Linked DNA regions of Homo sapiens: region 1 is linked to region 2. The links are contacts of gene promoters, found by promoter capture Hi-C in blood cells and fetal thymus (Javierre and others, 2016). All regions are on one chromosome and are shown on one strand. Each heading gives the region's core, a stretch centred on a gene start or on the middle of the fragment in contact. The rest is flanking DNA. Distances are from core to core; before and after follow the strand shown. Region 1 overlaps NUCB2 (nucleobindin 2). Region 2 holds the start of SPTY2D1 (SPT2 chromatin protein domain containing 1).

Evidence for each region. Contacts are between HindIII fragments. The CHiCAGO score rates a contact against its expected background, and 5 or more counts as called.
Region 1: a contact is called between a fragment that was not itself captured here and the fragment with the promoter of SPTY2D1 in region 2, in 1 of 17 cell types (total CD4 T cells). The highest score is 6.1, in total CD4 T cells.

What each region holds. Positions count from the first base shown.
Region 1 is chr11:17,278,690-17,285,094 of GRCh38, reverse strand. NUCB2 (nucleobindin 2) reads right to left here. Exons shown (of 14, transcript NM_005013.4): 2 at 2,152-2,306. Among named protein-coding and RNA genes, the nearest start is that of NUCB2, 5.2 kb to the right of the region's middle. The HindIII fragment of the contact is 4,092 bases long and covers 2,978-6,405 here.
Region 2 is chr11:18,632,470-18,638,235 of GRCh38, reverse strand. SPTY2D1 (SPT2 chromatin protein domain containing 1) reads left to right here and starts at 3,894. Exons shown (of 6, transcript NM_194285.3): 1 at 3,894-4,038. The coding sequence starts at 3,979. It overlaps LOC105376578 (a long non-coding RNA gene), which reads right to left and starts at 3,887. Exons shown (of 2, transcript XR_931097.3): 1 at 3,275-3,887; 2 at 2,243-2,356. RefSeq lists an enhancer at 3,404-3,673 and a silencer at 4,730-4,909. The HindIII fragment of the contact is 3,460 bases long and covers 1,739-5,198 here.

The sequences.
Region 1 (6,405 bases), core at 3,774-6,273, 1.4 Mb after region 2:
TCCTTTTCAATTAATGGCTGAATTGAAGCATGTTTCCTTTAACCTATTATAAGTATGTATGTATGTATGTATGTATGTATTGAGACTTTGTTTCTAAAAACAAAACTAAACTAATATTTATGTATTAAGTAATGACTATGGTACCAGATACTATGCTAGAAGACAAAGGTAAGCGAGATCGACATAGTCCTTACCCTCACAGGGCTTCAATCTAGTGAGGAAGGTAAGCTATTAAATACAATTGCAATTTTTAAAATGCTGCTTACAAAACAATGCATAGCATGATACTTTTCTGTTAATTAAAAAAAATTAAAAGTCATGAAAATGGTATTCACCAAACAGACATTCTCAGTCAGGTGATTTATAACGTTAAATGTCTCTTAAAAACTGGGTTGTTTTTATGGTCACAAGTCTCCTGATTATTTTGTTTGAGGTCAACAAGTCTAGATCAGAAAAAAGGAAACTGCAATACTAGCAGCAAAAGAACTACTGTACTTTGTGCCTATCTAATACAACCAAAAAATGTAAAAACTTTCAAAAATACAAATATACTGTGTAGAAATAAAATCTTAACTTACTGTCTCCCTTCTAAAAACTCTAAAAGATTGACTGAATCTTTAGAATCTTTCTCACTCCAATTTCCATTCCCTGAATTTCTTTTTCTCAAAGCTATTTATTTCAGTTTACTTTTGAAATAGAAATAATGACAATTGAACCATTTTGCAGGACAAGTATAGGGTATATTTATATAATATTCACAAAGAAAAGTCTGGAAGGGGCTGGGCACGGTGGCTCACTCCTGTAATCCCATCACTGTAGGGGGCTGAGGCAGGCAGATCACCTGAGGTCAGGAGTTCAAGACCACCCTGGCCAACATGGTGAGACCCCATCTCTACTAAAAATACAAAAATTAGTTGGGTGTGGTGGTGGATGCCTGTAGTCCCAGCTACTGAGGAGGCTGAGGCAGGAGAATCGCTTGAACATAGGAGGCAGAGGTTGCACTAAGCCATTGCACTCCAGCGTGGGTGAAAGAGTGAGACTCCGTCTCAACAAAAAAAATAAAAGTCTGGAAGGAAATAAAATATTGGTGTGGCTAAATAAGTTAAGCAAGAACTAGTAGTAAGAGAAAATTTCAAGACAACTAACAGTTAAGTGGTTAAAAAAAGAAGAAAGGAAAGAAAAAGAACAAACTACTTTTAGCTAGCAAGGAAGGCAAGTGTTCCTCATGTGACCATAGTGAAATGTATCTTGAGATGAATTATATTTACTTTCAATATAAATTTACTTCCTGATGATTAGTTATGTGATACCCTTGGGATAACTTATCTCTGTCATTTTAGTGCCTTGATTATAGCAAGTAGCTCAATAAATGTTAGCTCTTTTTAACACAACCATAAAATGTACAACAAACATCTATTGAGCATTTATGGGTAATTTTAAAAAATAACCAGAACAAATCCACAAATAAGACAGAAAAGCTTCTATAATGAATTAAGGGCTAAAAGTAAAAACAGAAACACAATTTATTACATGAAGATTATTTCCTTCTGTAGTTAATAGTCAGACTTATATCTCTGCCATGGCAAATTATAGAAGCTTCTATGAGTGGTTATCACAGCTTACAGATTTCAGAGCTGAAAGATAAAAAGATTCATATCATGGCAGACACTTCTATTTGCTTGCCAATATCCAAATCTTTCCTTCCTTCTCAGTAACAAAAGCCCAATTTTATAGAGGGCAGACATGCAGTCAGCTACATTTCCCTGCTTTCTTATAGCCTCAGCCTTGGTTCAGGAATTCTCCTTAAAGGAAGAGGATGCATCTTTCTTCGCCTATGCTTTGCTGCCTGGAACATGACAGTGATGGTTAGAGCTCTGGCAGCTATCTTGGACATACAAGAACCAGTACTACAAGAATGTCTTAGGGATCACTGATAAAAGAACTGAAAGAAGCTTAAGTCTCTGATGACTTTATAAAGCCACTATACCCATCCTAGAGTGCTATTTCAATTATTATTTTATATAAAAAATAAATATTGCATGTTTAAGCCATCTGTGAGTTCGTTTTTGGTTTTTCCTTTTTTGTATTTTGGTGGTGGTGGTAGTGATAGTCATGTTTCTTTGCAACCAAATGCAATTATTGAGTACTTACGTTCAGGCAGGTAAATAATTTTTATCTCCTTTTTACAGATGAGACAACTGAGATCCAGAGAGGTAAGATGACTTGCACAATACCAAAATAGTGAAGAGATGGGTCTTGGCTCCTAGCTCAATGTTTTTTCACTAAAAACTGACTCGTAACACGTTCTAAATGTAAAAAAAAATAAAAATAAATAAATAAAAGACACAAAATCACAAAATTTAGACTTTTTACAGTGGTAATGGTACATGATAGTGTATGCATTTGTCACATAATGTGAAAAGTGCCAAATTTTTATGATGTGGAAGGAGACTAAATTATATCATATTCCATTAAGGAGGGGAGAAAGATACATGAAATAAACAGAATCAAAAACCGGAATAAACAAAGATGTTGGCCGGGCACGGTGGCTCCTGCTTGTAATCCCAGCACTTTGGGAGGCCGAGGTGGAGAGATCACCTGAGGTCAGGAGTTCAAGATCAGCCTGCCCAATGTGGTAAAACCCCATCTCTACTAAACAAATACAAAAATTAGCCGGGCATAGTGGCAGGTGCCTGTAGTTCCAGCTATTCAAGAGGCTTAGGCACAAGAATCGCTTAAACCTGGGAAGCAGAGGTTGCAGTGAACCGAAATGATGCCACTGCACTCCAGCCTGGGTGACAGAGCGAGACTCTGTCTTGGGAAAAAAAAAAAAAAATATATATATATATATATATATAGATAGATAGATAGATAGATATAGATATAGATATATAGATATAGATATAGATTTATTATGCCCAAATTTTCCTGTATTCCTCCACTCTTGAATAACTAGGAGGAATTCAGATTAAAAGCTTATTTTTTTCAGCAATGAGACTTCAAGATATAGGGCAACTTTTCCTGTTAAATCCTTAACTGGAATTTTTCTTTACTCTTACCACCAATTTAAAAAAATTAACTTTGTTCCTAGTTTGTCACAGAGATCAGTAATAAGATGAAATATTTCAAATTCTTTTTTGAAACCCCACCAAATAACATGTAAAACATAAATCAGCTCATGTGCAAACTCATTAGTAAACATAAGCAGTTATTTCTAAGTAGTCTGTTAAAAAAAAAAGCAAATAAAATATTTTCAAATTTTAAGGAGACATGTATTTCTTGTTTTACATATGGTATATTTAACATAAAATAATCTATGCAGGAGAGTAATCACATGCATGTTGTATTTTGGAAAGTTATATGACTTTTATTGACACAACATGGTAAAAAATAAACACACAAACAGGAGATTAAATCCTAACTTCCCCCATTTACTCGCAAGCTACTTGCCTCTGAGTCTTGATTTTCCTACCTAGAAAACTGAGCTCATACCTCTTCACAGGTTTGTTGATGCGAGGAAAATAAGAATGAATACAAAGTAACCAGCACAGTGCATGACAATGGTAATTGCTCAATAAATATTAATGCCCTTCTTGTCTTGAAAAGGAAACATAAAGAAATATGAAAATCTGTTCTGTAAACACCCAAAGTGGTAGAACTTAAAAAGCAAGACCAGGTTGGGCATGGTGGCTCACACCTATAATCCCAGCACTTTGAAAGGCTGAGGCGGGTGGATCACTTGAGCCCAGGAGTTCAAAACAAGCCTGGGCAACATGGTGAAACCCCACCTCTACAAAAAAAAATCAAAAAATTAGCTGGGTGTAGTGGTGTGCACCTGTAGTCCCAGCTACTCAGGAAGCTGAGATGGGAGGGTTGCTTGAGCCCAGGAGGTCGAGCCATGCATACCAATGTACTCCAGCCTGGATGACAGAGAAAGACCCTGTCTAAAAAAAATAAATAAAATAAATAAATAAAAATTAACGACACAAAAAGCAAGCAAGACCAGTTTGACATACAACTTTAAAAGTAATTTTTGTTTTCGTTTTTGTTTTTTGAGACAGGGTCTGACTCTACCACCCAGGCTGGAGTACATTGGCGCTATTTCAGCTCATCAAAACCTCCACCTCCCAGGCTCAAGCCATCCTTCCGCCTCAGCCTCCAGAGTAGCTGGAACTACAGGCACGCACCACCACGCCCAGCTAGTTTTTAATATTTTTGGTAGAGATGGGATTTCACCATGTTGCCCAGGCTGGTCTCAAACCTGTGAGCTCAAGTGATCTGCTCACCTTAGCCTCCCAAAGTCCAAGGATTACAGGCCTGAGCCATCATGCCCGGTCTTACAGTCATTTTTGAAAGGCCACATTAGAGCTCTTCTCTGAACATTGCCAGAACCAAAGTCCTGATGCAATCATAGACCAATGAAAGCAATGCATCCAACATAATCTCTTCCTTCCAACCTTAAATCAGAACTGTAGCAAGAGACTCAGGTTTCCTTCTCTAAGACACTGCCTTGAGCTAGGAAACGTGGATTGCTTCTTCTTACTATCAATGTCACAAATCTAATGATGAAACAGGGTAGGGTGAAGAAAAATAAACGGCTTTTGAGTTTCTCCATGGCACCAGTTTCAAAGGCCACAGATAACCTGGTGCTCACCTCCATTTTCCCTTTGAAAATGAAAGTCAACAGGAAAGTGAGGTTCAAATAAAATATCAAGTGTATGACCAGCTGAGTTGGACTCCAGCTTTTCCCTGATCAAGACATTAGTATAGATCTTAGAGCCTCTGTTGTCTACATCTGTAGAAAAGGACACTCATCAATGAAACTATTATATCTCCTTTTTTTCCAGTCTTAACAACGGATTGGAGTATCCTAGATTATAGGCTTATGAAAAACAGATCTGTATCACTCAATAAACATATTATTAAAATTATAATCTCTTTATTATTTACATATACTGTACTTCAGATAATTAAAATACACTGCCAAAAAAAACTCTGCCAAGGCCAGGTGTAGTGGCTCATGCCTGTAATTCCAGCACTTTGGGAGGCCAAGACAGGCAGATCGCTTGAGCCTAGAAGTTTGAGACCAGCCTGGACAACATGGCGAGGCCTCTTCTCTACAAAAAAATACTTAAAAATTAGCAGGGTGTGGTGGCATGCTCCTTTAGTCCTAGCTACTCAGGAGGCTGAGGTAGGAGGATCACTTGAGCCTGGCAGTTCCAGGCTGCAGTGAGCCATGATCACACCACTGTACTCCAGTCAGCCTGGGCAACAGAGTGAGGCCCTGTCTCAAAAAAAAAAAAAAAAAAAAAAAATGCTCTGCCAAAAATAAAATCAAGTAACTACTATCTGAACTTCTATTAGGCTGCTTTAGGATTTTAGAATCAGAGAATTCTAAGATCAGAAATAATCTTGGAGGTACAGTAGTCCTCCCTAATCTGCGATTTCACTTTCTGCAGTTTCAATTACCTGAGGTAAAACAAGATATTTTGAAAGATCACATTCATATAACTTTCATTTCAGTGTATTACTGTTATTCATTTTATTATTATGTATGTATAGCAAAAAACATAGCGTATATAAGGGTTGGTACTACCTGTAGTTTCAGGCATCCATTGGGACCCTTGGAACATATCCCTCTAGGATAAAGGAGGACTACTGTAATCTAATTCAGCCCTACTTTTATAAAAGGTTATAAATACAGAAGGAAGTTAACTGACTTGGCCAAGTTCGTTTGGCAGAGCCCGTACTGGAATCTGGCCATGAAATTCTAACTAAGTATACTTTTCACCACATCATGGTTGTAAAAAAAATTTTTGATTGGAAATAATGAAAGTGATTGAAGTTTTTCCTTGAATAAATTATTTGAAATTGTTAGTAGCCTGTTTTTTGTTTTGTTTTTGAGACGTAGTTTCACTCTAGTTGCCCAGGCTGGAGTGCAATAGCGCGATCTCGGCTCACTGCAACCTCCGCCTCCAGGTTCAAGCGATTCCCCTGCTCCAGCCTCCTGAGTAGTTGAGATTACAGATGCCCGCCACTACGTCTGGCTAATTTTTGTATTTTTAGTAAAGACGGGGTTTCACCATGTTGGCCAGGCTGGTCTTGAACTCCTGGACTCAAGTGATCCACCCGCCTCAGCCTCCCAAAGTGCTGGGATTACAGGCATTAGCCACCATGCCCGGCCTAAAGGATTATTTTCAATACATTTTTAAATCCTGCACTTGCTTCTGCCAGCTACCCAGTACTCAAAAGGGTATTTTGTAGAACCCAGCCTTCAAAAGGGTCCTTAGAAAGTGGAAAGTAATTTACATATTATTCTAAGTAATGCAAAATTAGTTTAGTATGTGTTCAGAGATTAATAACATATCCCAAAACAAAAAAGACATCTGAATTGATGTTATTGAT
Region 2 (5,766 bases), core at 2,645-5,144:
ATGTATCCTACATATATATATAGAACATTTATATATGTACATTATATATTGTACATTAGGCATAATTTTGTGTACACGAACATCTCAGAAGCACACTCAGCAACTTTATATGGTAATATCCTCTAGGGAGGGAGATGAGATTGAGGGAGGCTGATGGGAGCTTTATGTTATTTTTTTGTTTGAAAATTTTTTACATCAAACCTTATATTCAAATACTGTGCCATACATCAAAAAGTACAAAACAGAAACTTGCCTAAGGACACACAGCCCTTCCACAGCAGAGCCTGGACCTGCGGTTGGCAAAGACCCAGTTCATTCCATTCTTTCTGGTTCATACTACCCGAGTTTACCTTTTTACCAACAGCCTCTACCCACCACCCTGGTTATTGCATATCACTCGCCTTTTCTTCATCACCAAGTATCCTGAAGTATCACACTCACCTGTCCTTCCTCATGCCCAGAGTCTAACTGTCACCCAGGCTGGAGTGCAGTGGTATGATCTCGGCTCACTGCAACCTCCATCTCCCGGGTTCAAACGATTCTGCTGCCTCAACCTCCCAAGTAGCTGGGACTACAGGCACCCACCGCCATGCCCAGCAAATTTTTGTATTTTTGTAGAGACAGGGTTTTGCCATGTTGGCCAGGCTGTTCTCGAACTCCTGACCTCAGGCAATCCGCCTGCCTCGGCCTCCCAAAGTGTTGGGATTACAGGTGTCAGCCACCTCGCCCGACCTTCACTTACTTTTCTGACCTTTATTTCCTAGCATTCTCCTAAATACACCCACTACTTGTTCTTTCAACCCTTTAATGTGCTTTTCACACTCTCTAAATGTAATGTTGTAGCTGGAATTCCAACACTTCTAGAGTTGCCAGATAAATACAAGACACCTAAAGTTGAATTTCAGATAAACAACAAATGATTTTTGGTGTATGTCTTTCCAATTTAACTGGATGGGCTGGGCATGGTGGCTCATGCCTATAATCCCAGCAATTTGGGAATCCCAGCAATTTGGGAATCCCAGACGGGCAGATTACTTGAGCTCAGAAGTTCAAGACCAGCCTGGGCAACATGGTGAAACCTCATCTCTACAAAAAATACAAAATTTAACCAGGCGTGGTCGCATACACCTGTGGTCCCAGCTACTTGGGAGGCTGAGGTGGGAGGATGGCTTGAGCCCAGGTCGAGGTTGCAGTGAGCCGTGATTGCACCACCATACTCCAGCTTGAGTGACAGAGCAAGATCCTAACTGGATGTCCACATTTTTATTTGCTAAATCTGGCAACGCTATTCCCCACACTTTGTATCCCTAATACAGTTAGCACTTTCTGTTTTACATAATTGTTACTTGTGTTCACACAAGAATTAAAAGTTCTGATCAGGCAGGCAGGATATGGGTCTTTCTTTGTATCATCCATAAGGTTGGGCACACAGTAGTAGTTTCCCAGGAAGTATTTGCTGAACTCGATGATAGAATGTTTTACAAGGATACAGGAAAATTGCTCCTCTCATTCCTTACCTCATTCCCACCTCCAGCAGTTGTTCTTGATTTTGACTAACTAGGTATTAGTTACCTAATCCAAGCCCTTTTTTACATTATAACTCCATGTACATAGACTTGTACCAGTTCAAATGGGCTAACTGAAATATAGAGTCTGGTTTGGGTAATCTAAGGGTTCTAGTCTTGGCTCTCCGATTGACTAATGGTACAGTATAAGTCTAATTTCATCTCTTCAAGCTTCAGCTTTTCATCTATAAAACAGTAACAGGAAATGCCTTATACAACACTCATGATCAAGTCAGATAATCCATGTCAAGCACTAAGCATATAGTAATGGCTCAATGTATGCTAAGTACTACAATATTGAATCTTGGGAGCTTTCCACTTATCGATTCATTAATTTGGTCAAAAAATCTTTGTTGCAACTTTTATGTGCATTAGCAGGGAACTGTGCTGGTGATGGAAATAGTGATGGGTAAAATAGGCTTATGCCCATTTTCATAGCTCTGTCTATCACAGATATAGCCAATAGTTTAAAAAAAAAAAAGAACAAATATGTAATTACAAACTGTAAAATGTTGCATGAAGGGAAATACTGGGGGGCTGTAAGAATTTATAAAAGGGGCCCTGAGATAGCTCAGGAAGAGCTTCCTTGAGAAATGATGGTTGGCATTAATTGAAAACACCATATGCCAGTGTATTCGTTTGCTAGGGCTGCCAATAACAAAGTACCACAGACTAGGTGGCCTAAACAACAGACATTTATTGTCTTAACAATTCTGGTGGCTAGAATTCCATGATCAAGGTGTGGTTACCTTGAGGTCTCTCTCCTTGGTTTGTACATGGCTGTCTTCTCCCTGTGTTTTCACAAAACGATGTAGGAAAGAAAGGCTAATCTATAATCAGAGGAACAAACGCAGCTGCCTGTTATGTAGCTCAGGTTCCATAATAACATTCTTTTAAGGCGCAAAATAACTTAAAGTTCCAACAGCTTTGATTTTGAATTACGTTCGCAGCATTAAACCATCAAAGAGTAAGAGCCAGCAGCTTTGTCTAGCATGTTTTTTGTTTTTTTTTTTTGAGACGGAGTCTCGCTCTGTCGCCCAGGCTGGAGTGCAGTGGCGGGATCTCGGCTCACTGCAAGCTCCGCCTCCCGGGTTCACGCCATTCTCCTGCCTCAGCCTCCCAAGTAGCTGGGACTACAGGCGCCCGCCACTACGCCCGGCTAATTTTTTGTATTTTTAGTAGAGACGGGGTTTCACCGTTTTAGCCGGGATGGTCTCGATCTCCTGACCTCGTGATCCGCCCGCCTCGGCCTCCCAAAGTGCTGGGATTACAGGCGTGAGCCACCGCGCTCGGCCTGTCTAGCATGTTTTAACAGCTTGACATATTTACATACTGTATCATTCTCACCCGTCTTAAGTGTACGATTTTTAGTACATGTATAGTGCAACCATCCCCACAATCCAGTTTGGAGGCATTTCCATCCCACCGAAAAGATCCCGAGTACCTGTTTGCTATCAATCCCCTGGCGGGTTCCCACTTGCAGACCCAGGTTTGCCTAATTATTTTCAGTGTTTTTGCTAAGTCGAAATGACCTTACAGATCCAAGATAACTCTCCAAAAGAAGTCAGGACTAGGATCCCAATGAATATGAATATGAAGCATATGTTCATCAGTACACCAAAGTTATGTCAAGGCTGGGTCTGTATGTGAAATTCCTTAATCCATTGCCTGAGCAAAAACACAGGTTGGCTGCTCCACATAAAACTTACTTTCTAAACGGGGCAAAAGAAGTAAGCGCGTGCCCCCATCCCCGGCACGCGTGCATCTGAGTAGGAGGTAAGCGCACGGCATGTGGCCGAATTTGATGAGTAATGGGCATCCAAGACAGGACCACGGCGCTGCTGTGTGCGCCTGCGCAGCTTCGCGAGCGCCTAGACACAAGTAGCCCAAACCCCGGCTCGAGATCCGTCTGTTCAGCTGTTGTGGCGCCGCCGTTTTGGATCTAAGCGCCTACCCGTGACACCCAGAGAACCCAGGCCTGGCAAGTAAACCCTCTACCCCCTCACTTTCTCTACCCAGCGCTCACAAGGAGCAACAAGATGACAAGACCGCGCGCCCGGGCCACCAGGGAAGCCGCTCTCTCGCTTAGCCACACCCCCTTGGTTGCTAAAATGCCTAGTCCCTGCCCCTCGGGTCGACGCCAGCAGCCACGTATCACGTTTGTACGTGTCTCGGCCTAAAAGCGGAAGTTACGCAGGGACTCGCGAGCGCTGTGGCGGCCCTGAAAGGATATAGGCCGTGGAGGGAAGGGGGCGGGCAGACGGCATAGGAAGGCGCCGGAAGTGGTCCCGCAGAGGCGGGGTGGGAGTGGGGCTCCCGAGGCAGTGCAGTTGGCTGTAGCTGGGCGCCTCGGTTAGGTGCGCTGTCAGTCCTTTCCGAGTGCCTGGCCCAGTCTCTCCCGCCTCGGCCCAACATGGACTTCAGAGAAATTCTCATGATAGCTTCCAAGGGACAAGGTGTCAACAATGTGCCGGTAAGTAGCAGCTGGGGCATCAATGTAGGGGACCCTAGTCTTCCAAGTTCGGAATGTGTGTGGCCCATGGAACTTCTGGGCAGCCGCCTATCGGCTCCGGGAGAGGAAAGACCCGGACGCCTTATTTCCTTTTCTTGGGTTTATACTCTTGGGAACTCGGGAGAAAAGAGCTTGGGACGAGACGCGGGAGCCTTCCTGTGAATGGGTTTCGCCGGCTTATTTACCCCTGCAACAGGGACTTTGCGGTTTGGGTGTTGTAGCTAGAATTGCGTGAAAGCCGTGAGTGAGCTGTGCCTGGCACGCTGTGGATTCTAGCGCTGGTAGTTTTTGGCTTCCACATAAACTTCAGCCTAGAGATTGGGAAGGAAATATGTATGTAAGGGAGTTAGGGGGTTTGGGGTCCTTGGCTTGATAGCTTTTTGGCTGGCTTCTCATCGATCTTCAAGTCAAACGTTTAGCGATTTCTTGAAAGAATTCTCTGACTCGGCCCCACCCACTCAGCCACCGAGGTGATTAAATTATCACCTCCCAGGGGATAGGTATCATCTTTTGGGAAGAGAAGTTTAGCAGATTCCACGAAATCCTTGGCCAACAGAATAGGTGAGCTAGTTTCAGCTTCTGTTTACTTGTAGCCTTCCAGATTTCAGTCTTTGTTTAAAATCTAGGTCCCATTTGGTCAGTAGATGTTTGTCAGTTCGCTTACAGTCGCAAGAGCGGTGTAAGACTTAAATGGTAAAGTGGTGGAGAGCGCCTGGTTTCTGGGGGTTATGGCTGTTTTGCATAAGCTAATCATTTCCAGATTTTCAGATGGTACCCACAGCACAGCTGTAAACCGATAAGTTGCATGGTGATGCCTGCGGTTTGAGCAGTGAGGTATAGAACTAAAACGGCTCTCAAAGTCAATTCAGCTAGAATTTATTGAGCTCCGACGAAGTGCTCTGCATTTCCTAGATATTCGTATATTGCAATATTCGTTTTTTTCTCTTCTGCAGCTTTTTTTTGTCTTCTGAGGCTAGTTCATTCTTTTATCCCTTTGAAAATATTGATCTGAAAAAGGTCTATATTTATGTTTATAAATATATGTATATATACACACACACAGCCATCCCTTATCCCAAGAACTCTGAATAACCATTCCTCTAAGCCGTGAGTCATAAGCTTTGCATGTTGAAGGTATAGACTCAAACCTTTGAAACCCAGATCAACAGATTTACTTTCTAGAAGCATCTGTAAATTTTCCAGATGAATCAATATTGGGTCTAGTAACCATTCATCTTTGCATAATTTGGTCTGTATTTCATTCTAGATCTTATTGAATTTCAGTAAAGGTCAAAGATAGTACTAGCTTTGATGCCCAGTACTGTTCTGTGGAAGAATCAGAACTAAGTCATTTCTTATTCTGAAAGCCAGTAGCTGCTGGGAGAAAAGCAGACAGATAATCCTAAAGCAGAAAATTTCAAAATATGTGTATATGTCATAATATATGCATTATCTATGATTGGAATAACAGAAGAATCAAAAAGGGGAAAAAAGTAATTTAAAATTTAATAGATGGGCGCAATGGCTCAGGCCTGTAATCCCAGCACTTTGGGAGGCCTAGGCGGGAGAATCACCTGAAGTCAGGAGTTTGAGACCAGCCTGACAAATATGATGAAACCCCATCTCTACTAAAAATACAAAAATTAGCCGGGCATGGTGGTGTGCGCCTGTAATCCCAGCTACTTGGGA